3 separate regions of the Homo sapiens genome follow, and regions 2 and 3 are each linked to region 1. The links are contacts of gene promoters, found by promoter capture Hi-C in human tissues and cell types (Jung and others, 2019). All regions are on one chromosome and are shown on one strand. The core of a region is centred on a gene start or on the middle of the fragment in contact, and the rest is flanking DNA. Distances in the headings are between cores, read along the strand shown. Region 1 holds the start of CABP1 (calcium binding protein 1). Region 2 has its middle 5.4 kb from the start of POP5. Region 3 overlaps MLEC (malectin).

What was found. The method cuts DNA at HindIII sites, captures the fragments that hold promoters and counts their contacts. A contact is called where the count stands out against the background at its distance.
Region 2: a fragment that was not itself captured here is called in contact with the fragment with the promoter of CABP1 in region 1 in 2 of the 25 tissues and cell types used here (dorsolateral prefrontal cortex and liver).
Region 3: a fragment that was not itself captured here is called in contact with the fragment with the promoter of CABP1 in region 1 in 3 of the 25 tissues and cell types used here (adrenal gland, neural progenitor cells and small bowel).

Annotation. Positions count from the first base shown.
Region 1 is chr12:120,639,250-120,641,949 of GRCh38, reverse strand. It overlaps CABP1 (calcium binding protein 1), which reads right to left and starts at 1,324. Exons shown (of 6, transcript NM_001033677.2): 1 at 611-1,324. The coding sequence starts at 1,264. It overlaps CABP1-DT (CABP1 divergent transcript), which reads left to right and starts at 1,428. Exons shown (of 2, transcript NR_183426.1): 1 at 1,428-1,900. RefSeq lists silencers at 345-444, 665-834, 845-944, 1,165-1,464. The HindIII fragment of the contact is 37,846 bases long and covers 1-2,700 here.
Region 2 is chr12:120,585,482-120,588,181 of GRCh38, reverse strand. No RefSeq gene overlaps it. Among named protein-coding and RNA genes, the nearest start is that of POP5, 5.4 kb to the right of the region's middle. The HindIII fragment of the contact is 5,268 bases long and covers 1-2,700 here.
Region 3 is chr12:120,700,665-120,703,364 of GRCh38, reverse strand. MLEC (malectin) reads right to left here. Exons shown (of 5, transcript NM_014730.4): 5 at 1,506-2,700. It overlaps LOC124903035 (a long non-coding RNA gene), which reads left to right. Exons shown (of 2, transcript XR_007063489.1): 1 at 1-652; 2 at 1,321-1,554. Among named protein-coding and RNA genes, the nearest start is that of UNC119B, 8.4 kb to the left of the region's middle. The HindIII fragment of the contact is 5,890 bases long and covers 1-2,700 here.

The DNA.
Region 1 (2,700 bases), core at 75-2,574:
CCTTAAACCACCCCAAAGTTCCAGTTTGAGCCACAGCTCTGCATGCCCCTCCATGCCTACCCAGACACCTCTTCTCTTTCCTCATATTTTTGGATCTCCTAACTTTTCTCAGGCCTTCAGGGACATGATAGGCAGTGGCCAGTGTCCCTCGCCCTCAAGTAATTCTGTGTTCTCTGAGGTCCCCTCTCTTGACCCCCAGACTCCAAACCGCTTGCTCTCCTGAGTCCCTCCCTGGCGGTACTGGCCAGAGGCCAGAGGAGTGGGTTTGGCGCCACCTGCTCGGAGCGCCCCTCCTTGACCCCCGCAAATCTCCAGGACGGTCGTAGAGGTCGCTCTCTTCCAGGACTGGCGGGTTCTGGCGGGTATGAGGGAGGCTAGCGGGGAGGGCCTTGCCCCAAGAGGCCCGGAGCGTGGACAGCGCACGGGGTGCTGAATCAGGCACGGGGAGGAGGAGTGCCGGCAAGGGCGCCGGCCCGGGGAGGACGAGGTGAGCCGAGGCGTGATCCGTGGGGGACCACGGGCCGCGGGAGGAGGCTGTGGACGCGCAACCGCGGCCGGCAGGGTCCCGAGCGCCTTTCCCGGGAGCGCTGACGGGAGGCGCGGCCCTTACCTGGCCAAAGGCGGAGCTGAGCATGGGGCGCAGCCGGTGGAGGAACGGGTCCGCCTCGGACGCGGCGGCTGGAACGGAGTCCCCGCGGCCCCGGGCTCGCAGAGAGCCCCGGAGGCCGAGCGCCGGGGACAGTCCCCGTTCCTCCCCATCCCGCCCGCGGGCCGGCGGCAGCGGCGACGACGGCGAAGGTCGGGACGCCGCGGCCGGCAGCGCCTCCCGGGGCCTGCAGTGCGCCTGGGGGAGCACACGCTGGCTCCCCCGCGCGCCCTCCTCTCGCGGCGCCGGCCGGCACAGGGGCCTCCGCGAACTGGGGTCCCCGGACGACTGCGGCGTCGCCGGGCAGGAGCCGGGTAGCCGGCGGCTAGGCAGCCCCGGGTCCCGGGCAGGGCCGTGGCGGGGAGCCCGGCTGCCCCCGCTCGCCGCCGCCGCCGCCGCCTTCAGCAGCGACGTCTTGGACTCGCTTTTGGCGATGTGCGAGCTCATCGCGGCGGGGCCCGCGCTCGCATGGCCCGGCGGGGGCGGCGCGGTGCGGCGCGGCGCGGGGCCCCCGGCGGGCAGAGAACGGGGCTCCCGGCGGGAGCCAAGCCCGAGGACGCGCTGGAGGCGGGCGCCGTCCCCCGGCCGCTTAAATGCGGCCCCGTCGCCGCCGCCCATGTGACAGCGCAGCCTCTACGCCCGGAGCCCGGAGCTCCCGGCGGCTGGCGGTGCAGATCTGGGGGCGCTGCCGGCTGTCCCCGGAGAGCCCACCCCCGGCTCCCTGGCGGCCCAGGTACCGCCGCGCCCCGCCCCTTGCCCCGCCCCGCCCTGGGGGAGCCCCGCTTCCGGGCGGCCCCTGGCGGCGAAGGGGACGCTGCAACGCGGAGCGGGAGCACGAGGAGGGAAGGGGCTTGGCAATGGGCCCCAAAGAGGCCGAGACCCCGGGAGTGCCGGCAGCGCTCTTTATCACGCCTGGAGGCTCCTGCAGAGCCCCGGAACCGCCCGAACCTCCAGAAATGCAGGCAGGGTGCACTCCCCAGGGGGTACAACTTTGGCAATGAGGACTACAGAGGTCCGGGGAGAACCGGAGACCCGAGGAGCATGAAGGCACTCTGTGACATCACTGCCTACAAACGCAGGGGCCGGAATGCAGTGACAGGACACTGCTGGGAGGAAAGTCTCCCAGCGCCTCCGTGTGGGGCTGCCTCCACTCCCAATACCGTGCGGGGGGACTAGGACGACCCTGGTAAGTCAGCCACAGGATATCAGTTCTCAGAATAGAAGAGAAGCCAGGTCTGGCAGCACCTGATGATGGTAAGTCTCAGGTAGGACCCATTTGCTCCCCCTCCAGCTCTTGTCCCCTCTTTCACCTTCCTGCCTTTCTAGATGCTACAGAAATTCCTGCTCTCGGTGGGCAGCCAGGGAGCGTCCCAGGCCTTATCTGAATCTCAAATCCCAGCTCTGCCACCTACCATCTGGGTAACTTGGGCAGGTGTCATCAACCTCTCTGAGCCTTGTTCTCCTCTTCTGTAAAATGCAGATGATAAGCATAACTAATTTCTTGGTAACAGCAGACGATACTATGCACACAAAAGGCCTAGCCCAGTGCTCGGACAGGGGACCATCCAGTTAAGCCAGTTCCCTTCCCCCTGCACATCGTGAGGCCCCATCTACCATTCTTCTTTAGTATCCGGTGCTTGAGCTTTGCGGGGGGCTGGAGGGGTTCCTCCCAGGCTCTCCCTGTTCTGGTCCCTGGCCCCAATGCCATCCACAGTCTTGTCACCGCTCGGCCTCATTAAAAGGATACACGAGGCCGGGCACAGTGGCTCGCACCTGTAATCCCAGCACTTTGGGAGGCCAAGACCGGCGGATCACTTGAGGTCAGGAGTTCGAGACCAGCCTGGCCAACATGGTGAAACCCTGTCTCTACTAAAAATACAAAAATTAGCCAGGCGTGGTGGTGGGCGCCTGTAATCCCAGCCACTTGTAGGCATGAGAATAACTTGAACCCGGGAAGTGAAAGTTGCAGTGAGCCGAGATTGGGTCACTACACTCCAGCCTGGGCAACAGAGTGAGACCCTGTCTCAAAAAAAAAAAAAAAAAAAAAAAAAAAG
Region 2 (2,700 bases), core at 46-2,545, 54 kb after region 1:
TCAAGCAATCCTCCCACCTCACACTCCCAAGTAGCTGGGACTACAGCCAAGTGCCACCATGCCTGGCTAATTTGTACTTTTTTGTAGAGACGGGGTCTCACTTTGTTGCCCAGGCTGGTCTTGAACTCCTGGGCTCAAGCAATCCTCCTGCCTCAGCCTCTCAAAGTGCTGGGATTATAGGCATGAGCCACCATGCGTGGCCAGTAACTTCTTTAAATTATGAAACTAACATATGCACATCTCCATTTGTCTTTTCAGGATGCTACAGTAAAAATACCACAGACTGGTTGGCTTAAACAACAAATATTTATTGCTTTTATTGCTCACAGTTCTGGAGGCTGGGAAGTCCAAGATTAAGGTGCCAGGAGATTCTGTGTCCTCATGTGGTAGGAGAGGGAGAGAGCACTCTCTGGGGTCCCTCTTTTTTTTTTTTTTTGGAGACAGGACCTTGTTCTGTCACCCAGGCTGGAGTGCAGCGGTGTGATCTCAGCTCACTGCAACCTCTGCCTCCCAGGCTCAAGCTCAAGTGATTCTCCTGCCTCAGCCTCCTGAGTAGCTGGGATTACAGGCATGCACCACCATACCCAGCTAATTTTTGTATTTTTAGGAGAGGCGGGGTTTCACCATGTTGCCCAGGCTGGTCTTAAACTCCTAGAATCAAGTGATCCACCCACCTCAGCCTCCTGAAGTACTGGGATTACAGGCATGGGCCACAGTCCCCAGCCTGGGGTCCCTTTTATAAGGGCACTAATACTATTCATGAGGGTTCAACTCTTATGACCTAATCACCTCCCAAAGGCCCCACCTCCTAATACCATCATCTTAAAGGTTAGGATTTCCGTATATTAATTTGAGGGAACATAAACATTCAGCACACAAACATATGGCAAAATAAAATGGAAAAACAGAGGACATGGTAGAAACTAAGGCCTTCCTACTTCACACCTGAATTCCTCTCCCCAGAGGTAACCACCATCAACAGCTTCTTGGGTCACCCTTTGGAAATTTTCGATGCAAATAAAGGCAGAGAAGCCATATAGAACAGTGGTTAAGAACATGGACTGCCTGATCCAAATTCTGGCCCTGCTGTGGACAAGCTACGTGAAGCTTAGGCCAACAGTTTGTTCTCCCTGAGCCTCAGTTTCCTCATCTGTAAAATGGGGTTAATAAAACCAAGTACCTACTTTATAGGGTAGTTGTCAGGATTAAATGAGTCAGTCTAGGCAGTGTTTATTTGTTTATTTATTTATTTATTTTTTGAGACAGAGTTTTGCTCTGTTGCCCAGGCTGGAGTGCAGTGGCACAGTCTCAGCTCACTGCAACCTCTGCCTCCTGGGTTCAAGCGATCCTCCTGCCTCAGCCTCCCGAGTAGCTGGGATTTACAGGCAACTACCACCATGCCCAGCTAGTTTTTTGTATTTTTAGTAGAGATGGGGTTTCACCATATTGGCCAGGCTGGTCTCGAACTCCTGACCTCAAGTGATCCGCCCACCTCGGCCTCCCAAAGTGCTGGGATTGCAGACGTGAGCCACCGCGCCCAGCCTAGGCAGTGTTTAGAATGAACATTCCCTGGCCCATAGTTGTCCGATAAATACACACATACAGTGGACCCCTTCTGGTAAACACTGAGGTGGCCTTTTGCTATAACCAACGATGCTGCAAGCAAGACACATCCTCATTCACCTGTCATTTGGCACAAATGCGACAATCTCTGTGGGAGAAATTGCTGGTGGAGAAATTGCTGGGTCAAACAGTAGAGCCCTTGTAATTTCAATTAATTTTTGGATGAGCGAATTCTCACAGCAGGCGGGGACAGGGAAAGAGGTTCACAGGGCAGCGAGGACAAAGGAGGAGCAAGATGCAATGTTTTGACTGAAGTCCAGGGAGGGCTGCATCTGTCCCAGCAACCTGGAGGATGTGGCGGCTCCCCAAGCCCCTGGCTAAGCAGATGGAGGGTTTAATTTCATCTAGATTGTCCCCATAAGGGTTTTACAGAAAATTGGTTAAGATTCGAGGAGTAGGAGCCTCTTACGAGCAGTGGCTGCTTAATAAAATGCTGGAGCAGATACAGTTTCCCTTTGCCACCATCCACAACAGCAGCATCTGGGCTCTGACAGAAACCCCTCGGATGCCAAAGTCACCTCAGAATGGTACCCCAGTTGCGCTCTCCTTCCTCAGCATCTTTCTAGGTCCCCGAATACAGAGTAGAGAGCAAGGGGTTAAGAGCACAGGTTTTAGGGTAAGACAGATGTCCACCCAAATTTACTGTGTCAACTTGGGCAAGCCATTTTCCTCCCTGTGTCTCAGAGGATAATGGGTCCTAACTTCATGAGGCTGATGTGAGGACTCAATCAATCAAACCCAGAAAAGACAGTGGCCAGCACACTGGGAGAGCCCAATTAATGATCACCCAGGAGACACGGATGAAGAATAAAGACAGTGATCCCGGCTGGACACGGTGGCTCACACCTGTAATCCCAGCACTTTGGGAGGCCCAGACAGGCAGATCACATGAGGCCAGGAGTTCGAGACCAGCCCGGCCAACATGGCAAAACCCCATCTCTGCTAAAAATACAAAAAATAGCCAGGTATAGTGGTGGGCACCTGTAGTCCCAGCTACTCAGGAGGCTGAGGCAGGAGAATCGCTTGAACCTAGGAGGCAGAGGTTGCGGTGAGCCAAGATGGAGCTACTGCCCTCAA
Region 3 (2,700 bases), core at 194-2,693, 61 kb before region 1:
AGGTCTCTTCCCCATTTGGCAGCTCATGCAAAGCTACTTGAAATAGTAACAACGAAATCTGAATTAGGAAAGAACTCCAGTTATGGGTGGGCTCAGCCTAAGAAAGAGGCTCTGTGGGCCTCCTGGCTTGTTTGGGCCCTGAGAACAGACTCCATCAACAATGGCCTCACTCTTGGGGCTGCACACTGAATTCTGCCCTTCAAGGGATAACTGAGGGAGGTAGGCCAAACTCCTGTTCCTCCACCTCCACCCCTCCCTACCCCTGCAAGCCAGCAGTCTCCATTCCCACTCGGAGAAATCCCGCAGGTAGGCTCTGGAGCCATGCCACCCAGCACCATGAAGAAATGGATGGCAGCAGAGGGTAATGATGGAGAGCAGGAGTCCTGGTTTAAAACCCCAGCTCCGCCTTTTGTTGGTTGTGCTACCTTGTGCAAGTCACTTCATCTCTTAAAGGGGAATAGCAACTGGTTTGTTGAAGATAAAAGAGAGATAACATGTGGAAAATGCTGGGCATTGTGCCCAGCCCATTTCAAGGACTCAGTAATGGACAGCTGTAATTATCTTTACAGCTTTAAAGAGCTTGGGGCTTTGATGGCAAACAGACTGAATTTGAACCCTGGCTTGACCAGACCATTTACTACATTAGTCTGGGGTATGTTACTGAACTTTTTTGAGCTTCAGTGTTTGTGTGTGTGTGTGTATGTGTGTGTCTGTGTGTGTGTGTCTGTGTCTGGGTCACCCAGGCTGGAGTGCAATGGCGAAATCTCAGCTCACTGCAGCACTGACCTCCTGGGCTCAAGTAATCCTCCCACCTCAGCCTCCTAAGTAGCTGCGACTACAGGCATGCACCACCATGCCTGGCTAATTTTTGTATTTTTAGTAGAGACAGGGTTTCGCCATGTTGCCCAGGCTGGTCTTGAACTCCTGGGCTCAAGCAATCTGCTGGCCTCAGCCTCCCAAAGTGCTAGGATAACAGGCGTTAAGCCACCATGCCTGGCTCAACGATCCTCACCTGTAAAACGTGGCTTATAAATTATAGGAAAAAAAATCCCTCCTGCATTCTGCTCTTCCTAATGTGTAATCAACAATGACAAAACACCAGAAAAGGAGCAAGCAGAGAAAAATCTCCTATGGCTTAGGTTAGCTTAGCTTGTCCGTGGGCTATCACAGAGGCTAAGGGAATGGTGAGGAGAGGCAGCAATAGGCCCAGTGTGCCTTAAGAGTGGGACAGTCTGTGCCTAGTTGTTCCAGTGAAAGTGAAAACAAATTTTTTGTCCTTAAATGCGCTGCTAGTTGAAATGACCAGGAAGGGTTTTACAGAATGATTCCCCTAAGCAAACATCCCAGAGAGAAGAAAAGCAAAAGACACACAGCTAAATGGACAACAGTTCCCAGCCTCGTCACAGGAGAACTCTTTGGAGCCAAGTGAACCCCTGGGTCTCCTTTTTCCCACCCCATCACTTCAGCGCTTTGAGATCAAGTTCGAACTCAGTCCCAACACAGAGTGTCACTGCAAATTGTTTATTAAAACACAAAGCAATGGACAGTGAAAAACATCCTGATTTTGTACTTTTTGGTGGGAGTGGGGTGGGACATGGAAGGGGTAGGGTCAGATGGAGACAGCCCAGAAGGAAAGCCAGCTCTATCCACCCCTACAGCTTCCCCGGCCAACCAGGTTCAAAGCCCATCAGTTATATCTCACTGTGCCGCTGTCAATGCATGTTGTGGCTGCTGGCAAAGAGTTGGTTTGGCCTCCACAGAGAGAGGATGGGAAACTAGGGTAGAAGCTACAAGGGCTAAGAACTTGATGCTTTTTCTCCAGTACTTGGTACAGAATAGAGCAGCCAGGCCCAATGTGGAAGGGTGGGCTTGGTTTCCTGACAAGCCAGGTTAGACCAATAATGGTTGAAGAGGCTGCCCTGGGCTCAGAATGGGCAGCTGGTCCTTGCCTGGGAGAACTTTGTGGAAGGAAAAGGTAAGATTCCTTAAGTCCAAGGAGAGAACCAATCCAGGGTCAAATTTCTTTTCATTCCCTGGATCACAACACACCAGGGAAGAGAGGAGTCAAGAATGTCTCTCCCTGCCAGTGCTCCCCTCCTACCTCGCAACTCGGCTCTCCCTTCCCGACAGTTGTCCTTTGAAAGGACGGAAAGCGCACTTCAGTTTGTTGTTGTTTTTCCTCATACTGAAATAAAGCACTGAAGCTCAAAATAGAGGTGAGAATGGAGTTCTGCTTTCCCCAGTGCTATGTGCCCCCATCTCACAAGACTGCCTGGATGCAAGAGGTGCCAAGGCCCTCTCTGCCAACTCAAACAGGCACTACTGTTTCCTTGGCTGCCAGCACAATCCTGGCTCCTTGTGTTTATACTCCTGGGGGAACCTGTCCCAAGAGATCCATCCTGCTCTTTTCCTGCCAACCCAGCTAGTCCCCAAATCACCTGCTCTTATCAAGATAATCTGGCCCCCCATAGCAGGCTAGACAAAAGGCAGCTGGAAAGGACAGGCCAGACTGGAAGCAAGCCACACAGATGCAAAGAAGAAACCTGCCCTCGCTAGGCAGCTGATCTACTGGTACCAATCTAGTCTCATAACAAAATGAGGAAATCTAGCCCTCTTGCCCCAGAGAGATTTAAATACAGAGAGTCTTAGTTTGGACTGAAAGAGAAAAATTGCTCTGATCTTTCTAAAGCTTGAACATTA